Regions from separate parts of the Homo sapiens genome. Here region 2 is linked to region 1. The links are contacts of gene promoters, found by promoter capture Hi-C in blood cells and fetal thymus (Javierre and others, 2016). All regions are on one chromosome and are shown on one strand. Each heading gives the region's core, a stretch centred on a gene start or on the middle of the fragment in contact. The rest is flanking DNA. Distances are from core to core; before and after follow the strand shown. Region 1 holds the start of SLC35B3 (solute carrier family 35 member B3). Region 2 holds the start of CAGE1 (cancer antigen 1).

Region 1 (6,100 bases), core at 2,285-4,784:
AAGGAAGGAAGGGAGGGAGGGAGGGAGGGAAAGAGAGAAAGAAAGAGGAAGGAAGGAAGGGAGGGAGGGAGGGAGGAGATGGAGGGAAGGAAGGGAAAGAAAGAAAAAAGAAAGGAAGGAAGAAAAAAGAAAAGAAAGAAGGAAAAGAGAGAGAGAAAGGAAAGAGAGAAAGAAAGAAAGAAAAAGGAAGGAAGAGAAAGAAAGAAAAAGAAAAAGGAAGGAAGGAAGAGAAAGAGAAAGAAAGAAAAAGAAAAAGGAAGGAAGGAAGAAAGAAAAAGAAAGAAAAAAAGAAGGAAAGAAAGAAAGAAAGAAAGAAAGAAAGAAAGAAAGAAAGAAAGAAAGAAAAAAGAAAGAAAGAAAGGAAGGAAGGAAGGAAGGAAGGAAGTCAATCAATCATGTGTTTGTAACTCTGTTATATAATGGTACTGGCAGAGGCACCATGAACAAGACCAGTCATATCAAGGGAAGTGTCAGTTCCGTAAGTACAAACCACGGCTCTCTCCAGGAAGGAAGGACTTTTGTGTAATTGCTCTCCTTATGGAATTTACCATCAATCTTTGCTGCTGATGGGCTGGACATCCAAAGAGGCAGTAGTCATATCGGCTTTAGTAAGAAAGAGCCTTAATTGTTGGGCCATGCACATGTCCTCCCCTTAATATCACTAAGAAAGTCCTTGTTGTCATCTGACTGCAAAGTAACCCACTTCCAGAGTTCTGAGGAGCTGCATTCTAGACTTTCTTCTTACATCAAATTTCTTAGCTTGGTTTCCCTCAAAACCTGAGACAACTACTTATGTGGGGACAGGTAATTTGGGATGTGATCCTAGTGAGAAACAATGAGAGAATGGAAGGGAGAATATAGACATAATACAAGAATGTGTTATTGAAGTTGCTGTTGTGAGAAACCAGAACCCAATTTCACTGGGACTTTTTGAAAAACACACAGAATGGCCTACAAAACTATCTTGCTCAAGTGTAAGAAGCAAGAGCATTTATCCATCAGTGACTGTCACCCCTTGGTTGAAGGGCCCCAGATGTGTTGACTTACCAGCACTTCAAAGCTGTGCAGGACAGGAGCTGAGAGAGCTACTGCTGGAATGTGTGAAGTCCGAAGAACCTCAGGGAAGAAAGCAAAGAGGCCTGGTAAATGTGGGAGAGGAGAAGCTGTCAGGGAGAAGAATGTGTAAGATTGCATGAAACTGCCCCCCACAACCAAGTCAGAAATGAGAGGTGATGCTCAGAAGATGTGAATCAAGACACCAAAGGTTTCTGATACTACAGAATTATTAATTTCTTAAAAATTTAAAACCAATTCATAGGACCAGGCGCAGTGGCTCACGCTTATAATCCTAGCACTTTGGGAGGCTGAGGTGGGTGGATCACTTGGGGTCAGGAGTTCGAGACCAGCCTGGTCAATAAGGTGAAACCCCATCTCTACTAAAAATACAAAAATTAGCCGGGCATGGTGACAGGCGCCTATAATCCCAGCTACTCGGGAGGCTGAGACAGGAGAATGGCTTGAACCCAGGAGGCAGAGGTTGCAGTGAGCTGAGATGTGCCACTGCACTCCAGCCTGAGCGACAGAGTGAGCCTCTGCCTCAATCAGTCAATCAGTCAATAAAAAACAATTCATAGCTGCAAGTCTTTAATTTTGTTTACCACGTGGTTATCACAGGAGTAAATGGGAAGTATTGTAAGAGAGTCGATATTTATTAAACACCTACTCTATAATAAGTACTACTCCAGATAGTCTCTCCTACATTTCACATTTGACATGTAAAAATATTTCACTGACATGGTAGTCAGAGAAGAGCCAGGTGACATTTGAGCAGTGACTGGAAAAAAATGAGGAAGCAAGCTCTGTGGACATCTGAGAGGGCAGTGTTCCATGCAGAAGGAACAACAGCTACAAAGCACTGATGCTTGCTGTGCTTGGGGGCAATTAGAAAAGCTCTGAAGTGTAGCTTGGATGTGATCCATCAAGAATAAGTTCAGTCTTAAAAGTCAGGGTAAGAATTTTGAACTTTAATCTGAGTAAAATGGTAAACCGCTAAAAGGTTCTGCACAGAGGAGTGGCATATTCAGGTTCTAATGGGATCACTCCAGCTGCTGAATGCAACTATGTAGAGAAATAAAGGGAATGCAGAAAGCTATGCTCACGGCTACTGCAATTGTCCAGGCATGAGCAGATGGTACCTTGTAACACCTCTTGTACCTTAAGTTGTTTTATACTGCCATTTACTTTCTCATGGAAACCCCTAATTTCTTCAGGACAGGGAGCTCATACGCATAGTTTACGATATGAGCTATACATATGCCCATTTAATAAATACTTGATAAATAACCACCATATAAATGGCTAACAGTAGTACTAAATTCACATTATACAGTGACGATATGGCATCACTGAAAGGTTTTGTCATTTACTATCTCTTTAGGAAATTTAAGTTCTCTAAGCCTTAATTCCAACATTCCTAAGTGTTGCTAACACCAGCCTAACAACGTTGGCAAGTATTAAACGAAAATGTCTACCCAGACCTTTTTTTCTCACCACCAAAGTAGGTGCCTTGCTTTCTTACAAACCCTCGATCCCAATACAAGACACAAATGCTACCCTTTCTGAAGAGTGCCTGTAAAATTTTAAAAGTTGTCCATAACTGACTGGATTCTAACATACATATTAATCCAATTCATCCCTTTCTGGTATTCAAGGCATGCTTTCAAAAATTGTCCATCTTCGTTACAGTAATATTTTCCTTAATTATTCTCTGAAAACAGCTCATCCCCAAACCGTCTTGGTTTTTACGTTATTACATCTCAGTGGTGATGGATGAGGCCCTAAACGCGGGGAAAACCTTTTACAAAAGTTTTGATGGCTGGTCCTCAAGCTTTGAGATTTACCTTCCAAGAATTAAGCAGCACTATCGAAACAATGCTGGCAACATTTTTATGAGGTTGCAAGGACCACGGTTGCTGCAGCTACAGGATGAGTTATAACGTCAGAAGCAACCCAAGCGTTACTTCAGGCCCATCTTCACCGGAGAAGCCCGTATGAATCAGGCAAAAACATAAAAACAGGTTCTGTGACTTTGCCGTATCTCATTTAGATCAAGTAGCACGCAGAAGGAAGACAAGGATTTTAAAATCTGGCTCCAACATTCTCCACTTGGTCGCGTTCTCAAATCTCAGCCCAGGGCCGCTGACGTAAAGTCGCCTCTCTCGTGGGCACCACGGGCTCGAGGGTAGCCGGCAGCTGAAACCCGAGGGGCTTCAGAGGCTTGGAGGCCAGGAGCAGGCAGAGCGCCGATGGGATAATGAGATTCTCCAGCAGATCGGCGCTCACCGACCTACTCCATTTCAGTGGGTAGAGGTAAAGGCTGAAAGGCGACCCTCGCACCGCCCGGCCCACCTAGGCAGTGCCGGCCTAGCGTCTCTACCCCATAGAGCATGCGCGGGAGGTAACGGCCCGCCCGCCACCGGCCACACAGGCCTGTCGGGAGGCGGGGCCACGCGTCTGCGCACGCGCGCAGGGACACATAGGCGGAAGTGGCCTGCGGGCGCCGGAGTTGAGAGTGCTTTCCGGGGAGGCGACCGCCGCGGTGGAAAGTGCAGGAGTGGGCGAGGAGGAGGAGGAAGAGGAGGTGATGGCGACGGACCAGGGGAGGGGGAGATGCTCCGTCTAGCTCAGACGCCACGCAGGCTGCCGTCACCCTTCCGGGTGACATACCGGCCTTGGGGTACGCGTGCCTTCGGGGCCTTTCCTGTGTTTGGGACCCAGATCTCCTCTCCTCCAGAAAACCTTGACACTGCCCATCTTCCTCATCCAGAAGGAGCGTTCGAGGAATGGATGAGGTCGGGATGGAAGAAACGGGTGATTCCCTTTTTTGAAAGAGCGGAAACCGGCCGGGCGGTTTCCAGGGAGGAGCATCTGTTCCTCCTCGCCCGTTTTTCGCCCTCGGGCTGGCGAGAACTCCCTCAGGTCCCAATCCGTGGACTCGCAGGGGTGAGGTGACCTCAAGGGGTCTTTTACGCTGTTCTCGGGGTCTCTGGAGAACTGTCAGTCACCTGGATACCTCTAGACTGTATTTACAGTTAACTGTTTCCTCGTTCCGTGTTTATTAAATAGGGGCACTCCAAGGTACTCTTTTCTCCATTTGGCTTGCAGTAGAATGTGATTGTTCTGGCTGGGCTATTAAGTTTATGGCATAAACTTCCACTAGAAGTTCTGCAAGTTTCCTCCAGTCTTTGCAACTGAATTATCTCTCCCGTCTTTTTATTATTTAAGGAATATTGAAAGTAAAAGATGGAATGATTTGGTGCGCTAACAAAATCTTAAGTGTTGAGTATCTGCATTTTTTCTACATTAGGATATCAGAAGCCTAGAATTGTTTTTTGATTAAACGTTTTTCTAAGTGAATTGAGATAGTTTGGAACTTGGAAGAGAGGCAGCATTTCAAAATAATTTAGACAGCGTTATTTTTACTTAATTACTTAATATATAAAGTCCTAGTGTTAACTTTTTCTCTTGGAAAAAAAAAAGAATAGTCTTCAAACATTAGCACAGGGTTTCTCCACCTTTGTGTAATGATGTGTGTACAAAGAAATGAGATGGAACTTTGTTTTTTCTGTTTTATAATCGTACACCATAGGCCATGATTGATTCCGGAGCGCAGTTAATCAAGGCATAATGGCATGGTAAGATTCTTTTATTTGTAACGTTGAGTGTGGCAAAGTATAGTTAAAATCACGTTTTTTCAGGTTAATGACACCGTAATGACTTTTTTTTCATATTCTACCTTTTTTTGGTGTGGGACTTTTGTCCTTCAGGTCGGAAAACTCAAAAATAAACTGAAATAATTGTGACTTCAATAGGTCATTGTAACTCAACATTATCACTAATTTTAATTTTTAAATATACATTGTATGCCGGAAATGCTACCTTTTTATTCCATTTTAGCAGTTGAAGTTGAATATCTGTGTTGAATTTAGGAAGAGGCCTCAGGCAATTATACACACCTGTGATTTTTAAAATATATATATATATATTTTAGTTTCACTGATTACTGTGAGCTTCAAAAGCAAAGCACAATGTTGATCATTTAGTCTGAAAACTAATTTTAATTCCATGCTTCATTTTTGCTCCTTGCATCACAAGGAGTTTGGCCCATTTTTTTTTTTAGATGATGGTTAGTATCAGTCATTAATGTTTGAAGTGGAAGGGATATGGCAGACATTCCCCAATGATCACAGTTATTAGGTATCAGAGGTCTTTATCAGTCACACTTTCTCACCAGTGATGTTCTTATTAATAAAACAGCATTCTAAATGCAAGGCTTTGGTGGGCAAGTTTTATGAGACTGATGCCTCAGGCAGAGGAAACAAATTTATTTTCATGTTCATTTCAAATGTTTTGTGGGGAGTTTCAGTAGCAATGTCGGTATTTTGGCATACATGTAGAAAAGACAGTGCTAGAGAGATTTCATTCTGCACATATGGCCTAGATCTGCAGCACATAAAGTTGCCAAGAAGTGTATTAGAAGTGGTAAAGTGTTGGAAAGGAGCTGAATAACGTTGATTAAATAAATGGTGCTTGCTAAACTGTGGTAGAGTCCTTCATTTAATCTTACATTTTTGTTATGTGCCAGAACATCATAGGAAGATATCTCTTGCCTTAAGGATTTCATAGGCTTTTAGGAGAAACAAGTATAAAAACGAAAAAGCTATACCATTATCATTTAGGAATTTGAAAAATATGTATAATATGATTGAGTCCAGGACATCAACTCGTTTTTAACTTCGAGGCCTTATTCATGGATGCAGCATGATCAGACTTCACGTTGAGCCATGTGACAGATGGGTCAGAAAGGGAAGAATTGATTATAAACAGTCTCGTAATCTAGGCAAGAGAAAATGGCTGCCTGATGGAGTAGGGTCCGAAACAGATATTAGATATAGTTATAGAGGTAGAGTTAACAGGAATCTTGGCAAAATATAGAATGTGAGGAAAAGGAAAGATTCTTAAGATGACTCCCAGATTTTTAGCTTGTGTTTCATACTAGGTACTGTTAAGTGAGATTGGGAATATAGGAACAAACAGTAGA
Region 2 (6,100 bases), core at 2,457-4,956, 1.0 Mb after region 1:
TGGCTTTCCATAAGACCCACATTAATATCTGAACTTTTCACCATCACTTGTAAAGGTCTCCATGATCTGGCCCCCCTTCTTACTTCTCTATCACCCTACCAATCTTCTCAACTACCTCCACTGTGCTCTAGGCACTCTGGCCTCGGGGCCTTTGCTCTTGCTGTCCCTTCTGTGTGAAATGCTGTTCCCTCTGCTCTTGCCAGGATTAGCTCCTTGTCATTCAAATCTGGACTTAACCTTTCCCTACCCATTCAGTCACCACTTGGTATATCAAACGATTTGCATAGTCTACATCATTATTTGGTTTTTAAATGGTGTGCCCTCTCTTTCACGTAGAAGGTAAAGTTCCATGACAGCAGGAAGTTGGTTCTTCTTGTTACCTCCGGCGCCCAGGACAGAACGTGGTACATATTAAGTGCTTAGTAAGTATTTGTTGAACGCTAAATGTGGTTAAAACGCAAAAACCCATGTTTCCTAATCGCTATCCCCAACTCTGCCTCCCAGTGACGCTAACCGACCTGAGAACCGCAGACTCCCTTGACAAGTAGCTTTCACTTAACTCTGCCGCGTGAACTGGGAGAAAAACCCAGCTGGGATGCAGAAACAGGCAAAGGGTTGTCAAGAGAGACGCTGAGTGATGAACCACTAGTCTCCCTCTAAACCGCAAACAAGAGTCCACACCCCAAGGGGGCGGTCAAGGAGAGAGCCGTACCCAGAGCCAGGGCACTGTACGGCCGCCTACCTGTCAGAGGAGTCCGCGTCGTCGAATTGCCCGGGGACCACCCGGCTCATGAGAAGCCGCCGGTAGTCCATGACTGGAGAGCGCCGCCGGAGGCCGCCGCTCTGCGATGGAAAGGAACGGCTCAGACGGATGTACCCACGGCCGATCCAAAGGCCTTGGCGTGGATATCCGCCTTGCAAACCATTCAGAAGCCAACAGTGGCCACCACGTGCGACGGGAAAACGGGACCGACAGATCCACCACCCTGCCACCCCAACCGGAAGCCCCTCACCGCCTCGCCCGGAAGTCTGACTTGAGCGGAAGTCCCGCCCCTGCGCCGAGCTGGGAGTCCGGAGCTCTCTGGATGGCGCGCTGTATAGGGCTGTGGATGTTCTGTGCTCTCAGGAAGGCGTGTTGAGTAGCCGGCACGGCGAGGCCCGTGCTGGCCGTTTCTTCCCGGAGTTTTCGTTTCTGTACCCCACTTTGTGTTTACTGCGGCAGGAGGCGCCAGCTAGCCCACAGGCTGTTCGGCCTAGGGGGTCGTACCTTCCTAACTTCACCACTCTCTGGGAAGACACCGCACCCACAGTAGGGTCGCTCGGGCCTCGCGGGCTGCACCTGTCTCTGCGGAGTTCCCCCGGCGCGGGCGGACGTCACACAGGGGCGTTCCAGCACTCCGGGAGCCCGATTGCGAGTTTGTGAGAGTCCTTGGTGGAGGAGGTTGGAAAGCGTTCTCCCTCCCACAAAACCCGGTGCAGAGGGAGGGAGAGCCAGGTCCGTAGCGTGGGTCCAAGAAACTATGGATCCTGGAAGTGAGCACACTTTTGTGTCTTAAAAAGTTTGGTGTCTCGTTTTGAGGTGAAAAATGAATGAGATAAGTGCTTTTTAAAAAGGTAAAGTTTGTCTTACAACTGAAAAAGCTTTTAAACAAAACTATAGTTTTTGCGAGTAACTCCCGTGACACCTCTTTTAACTCCTATCTTAAAACAGCTTTAGAATGTCTCTGGAACATCTATTCAAACATTTGATAAATATGTTAAAAATCCAACATAAACCTGTAAGGACAAATGAAAGATGGAAAAAATAGTCTAACTTTAAATTAAAAAGGTAAACTGGCAGATTGTGCAGTGCCACATGAGGGATGAACAAAGTTGTAGAAATGTAATTGGAAGTGCTGGGTTCACAAACAAGAAAACTAAGAAACAAGGCCTTTGCGCTTTTTTGCATTGGGAAAACAAAGCAAGAATTTTTCAGATCTCACCACAATCCAGGCAGCATTATTTGAAAGACAAGGGAGAAGTGAGCATAAAGTTGGGCCTTTCACTGATCCTGACTGGTCTGCTTGGCTTACTTTTTTATATTTTACCAAGTGATGACATAGGTTTGAAAACAACTAATTTTCAATAAACTATTCATTCAGAAATTCAATAAAAGAATCCAGGCAGATGAGTAATGACTATAAATTGAAAGAGCTTGATAGAAATAAGTCATTGGAATGCAGGTTTTATTCAATCAATATTTGCTGTGTAGACAGCACTGGTCCATTTGCAGTAGGGGATATTGGAAAGCCCTAAGTATGCTCCTCTCAAGACATTTATGATCTGTAAACACAAACACTAACACCCTTGAAACAGTGGTGAAGCTCTAAAACAGTAAACGAAATCACCAAGTGCTGAATTGTAAGATAGAGATTTAGAGACTGAAGACATTGTAGGAATTTTGAAAATAGATGAATGGGTAGATGGGAAGGTTTTAGGAGAGAAGCACGTGCCAGGGCAGATGACTGAAGCTTAATTCGTAAGGAACATTATCTGTCTGCAGGGAAATGAGCCTGATCTGAGTAGAGCAGGGGAGTACCGGGTAGGGGATGTCACTCCAGGCTATGGATGGCCTGGAAGGACAAAAATTTATAGAATCAATGTGAGTGGCCATCCTTTCCACTCTCAGCTCTGGAGCTCTGGACAGGCCTGAGGAAGTCAGGAGAATATGGACCAGTGTGGCAACATGGGATGGAAAGAAAGCACAGGTTACTGAAAGACTTTTTTTTTTTTTTTTTTTTTTTGAGATGGAGTCTTGCTCTGTCACCCAGGCTGGAGTGCAGTGGGCCATCTCGGCTCACTGCAAGCTCTGCCTCCGGGGTTCACGCCATTCTCCTCCCTCAGCCTCCAGAGTAGCTGGGACTACAGGCACACGCCACCGCGCCCAGCTAATTTTTTTTTTTTTTTTTTTTTGTATTTTTAGTAGAGATGGGGTTTCACCGTGTTAGCCAGGATGATCTCGATCTCCTGACCTCGTGATCCGCCCGCGTCGGCCTCCCAAAGTGCTGGGATTACAGGCGTGAGCCACCGCGCTCGGCCCTGAAAGACATTTTTAAAGGAGACATGGACGGGACTTGGTATCTGAATAGCCATGCATGATGAGGTAGAGGGATGCCAAGACAAGTCCAGTTTTCAAACACATGTACCTGAGGGAATAGGCGCAGTATAGGAAAGTGAGGAGGGAAAACAGTTACAATGCTGGGTTTGACTTGGTAGTGAGGTGTTCAAGTGGAAGGTATCAAGTAAATAAAAATCCAGGATTTTGTGGAAACTATTAGGTCTCTGATAATATTTTGTAAATATCCTTGATTAAATAACACAGAGATCCCTTCACTTCTAGGTCCAAAGCCTTCTAGGGAGTTATTGGATAGTAGCCAATACTGTTTGTTTTTCTCCAAATCAGTATTTACTACCATACCAAATTACGGTATACTCAGACTAAAATTTTTAATTTTTCTAATAACTTGACAAATGACATTTCAAATAAGGGCAGTGAACTTTGCTACTTTCTTAATGAGAAGAGGGATAGGGAAAAAACTTTTTGTTTATACCTACTAATAGACACATTTTTTTTTTAAAGAAGTCTTCTATTGTTCAACAGTTATGAACAAGGACTATCAAAAATTTTGGTCATCACCTTCAGATCCTGTACATTTTGAAGTGGATACTTCTCATGAAAAAGTAGAAAGCATGTCAGAATCGGATACCATGAATGTCAGCAATCTTTCTCAAGGTGTAATGCTTTCACATTCTCCAATCTGTATGGAAACCACCGGCACCACTTGTGACTTGCCTCAGGTGTGCATTGCTTATAAGTTCCAGGAGGCTCAGATGTATTCAGAATTCACATTGTCTTCCATATGAAAATTTCTTCAAAACTATAAGGAACAATAAAACAATATTCGGTGGACACATAAAGGAGGGGAATACAGGGTCTGGTTTTCCCAGTTTCGCTAGCGTAAGATACATTTTGACCAGCCTGGGCAACATGGTGAGACCCCATCTCTGCTAAAAATATAAAAATTAGCCAGGCATGGAAGCGAGCACCTGTAATCCCAGCTACTCTGGAGGCTGAGACAGGAGAATCACTTGAACCTGGGAGGTAGAGGTTACAGGGAGCCAAGATCGCGCCACTGCACTCCAGCCTATGCGAGAGAGCAAGGTACATTTTTACACACAGTGTTAAAACTGATCCTTTCTAGCCAGGAGTGCAGCCAGGGGACGTGACCAATTCAGTCAGAGGCAGGACAAGAGCCCAAGGAACCTGACTTCTAGTCTAATGCATCTTCCACTTACATCAGTATGCAAATGATTCAGTTGTCATTCATAATGACATTGACAGCACCCTGCATATAAATGACAACTTTCCTGTCTTCATGAAAATGCCTAGCTCCCTTTATTAAAAAATAAAAGATTGTAATGTCCCAATATCTTCATGAGTGTTGTGCTAAACGTTTGATAGTCAGTGACATCTGATTCCACTAAATAGGAATTTATAAAAATACATCAAAGATATATGCCTGTTTTATATATCTTCAGTGTTAAAAGACTGAAATAACCATCTTAATGCTGTTTAGACTAGATTTAATAAACATCAAATAATTATCAATACATAAATATGCTATCACGTATCCCTAAGTTTATAGTCACATGATTTGACTTACCAAAAAACCAAAATATTAAAATAACAAGCTATTTGTTACATTGTTGTTTAATATTGGGACTCTGTTAGCATAGTTTTACTAAAAGGGAGCCAAATACATGCTGGGGAAAGATACTAGAAAGCACATTCTACCTATGTAATGAAATATTCTAATAGCAGAATTATGTAACAATGTGCAAATACCTTTAGAAGAAGCTTGTGATGTTTGCTTGAAGTATTGATGCCTTTTTTATTAATACAGAACGAAATAAAGAATTTTGAAAGGGAAAATGAGTATGAATCCACACTTTGTGAAGATGCTTATGGCACACTAGACAATTTGTTAAATGGTAAGTATCTACTTGTTAGCAATATGCAAAAGAGAGAAACTTTTTTTTGTGTTCCGTGATAGTAACAATAGCCAGGTTTTGTGCTAAGCACTTTATATACATCATCACACTTAATCCACAAAAAAATCTTATTGAAATAAGAATTTTAAAAAATTGAAGTAAGGGCTGTTTTTATCTTCATTTTACAGATAAGGAAAATAAGGCTCAGAGAGTAACTTGCCCAGGATTGTGTAGCTTTAAATGAATGAGCCGTGATCAAGTCTCAGACTCAGACACAAAAATTTTCTACTATACAAGTATCCTTAAATGTGTATTGAGGTTGGGTGTGGTGGATCATATCTATAATACCAGTGCTTTGGAAGGCCAAGGCAGGAGGATTGCTTGAGCCAGGAAGTCCAAGGCTGTTATGAGCTATGATCATGTCACTGCACTCCAGTGGGCAACAGAAGGAGAACCTGTCTCTTAAAAAAAAAAAGCGGGGGCCAGGCACGGTGGCTCACGCCTGTAATCCCAGCACTTTGGGAGGCTGAGGCAAGTGGATCACCTGAGGTCGGGAGTTCAAGACCAGCCTGACCAACATGGAGAAACCCCGTCTCCAGTAAAAATACAAAATTAGCTGAGTGTGGTGGTGCATGCCTGTAATCCCAGCTACTTGGGAGGCTTAGGCAGGAGACTCCCTTGAACCCAGGAGGTGGAGGTTGCTGTGAGCCGAGATTGCACCATTGCGCTCCAGCCTGGGCAACAAGAGCGAAACTCCATCTCAAAAAAAACCAAAACAAACAAAAAACACCAGGTACAGTGGCTCACACCTGTAATCCCAGCTCTTTGGGAGGCCAAGGCAGAAGGATTGCTTGAGTCCACTAGTTTGAAATCAGATTGGGCAATAGGACGAAACCCCGTCTCTACTAAAAATACAAAAAATTAGCCAGGCATCGTGGTCCATTTTGGAGGCCTGGGTGGGAGAATTACCTGAGCGCGGGAGGCTGAGACTGCAGTGAGCCGAGATCACGCCACTGCACTGCAGCATGGGCAACCATAGTGAGACCTTGTCTCAAAAAAAAAAAAGAGA

What was found. The method cuts DNA at HindIII sites, captures the fragments that hold promoters and counts their contacts. A CHiCAGO score of 5 or more calls a contact.
Region 2: a fragment that was not itself captured here is called in contact with the fragment with the promoter of SLC35B3 in region 1 in 1 of 17 cell types (total CD8 T cells); the score reaches 5.5 in total CD8 T cells.

The regions. Positions count from the first base shown.
Region 1 is chr6:8,432,979-8,439,078 of GRCh38, reverse strand. It overlaps SLC35B3 (solute carrier family 35 member B3), which reads left to right and starts at 3,534. Exons shown (of 10, transcript NM_001370479.2): 1 at 3,534-3,736. It overlaps LOC100506207 (a long non-coding RNA gene), which reads right to left and starts at 3,456. Exons shown (of 5, transcript NR_038980.1): 1 at 2,901-3,456; 2 at 1,048-1,139. RefSeq lists enhancers at 3,137-3,226, 3,307-3,386, 3,327-3,496, 3,697-3,756, 3,253-3,794 and 1 more. The HindIII fragment of the contact is 10,856 bases long and covers 2,890-6,100 here.
Region 2 is chr6:7,384,716-7,390,815 of GRCh38, reverse strand. It overlaps CAGE1 (cancer antigen 1), which reads left to right and starts at 1,074. Exons shown (of 14, transcript NM_001170692.2): 1 at 1,074-1,614; 2 at 3,620-3,837; 3 at 4,944-5,031. The coding sequence starts at 3,643. It overlaps RIOK1 (RIO kinase 1), which reads right to left and starts at 1,008. Exons shown (of 17, transcript NM_031480.3): 1 at 743-1,008. The coding sequence starts at 813. RefSeq lists enhancers at 336-1,122, 726-1,145, 1,276-1,325, 1,336-1,395. The HindIII fragment of the contact is 2,387 bases long and covers 2,513-4,899 here.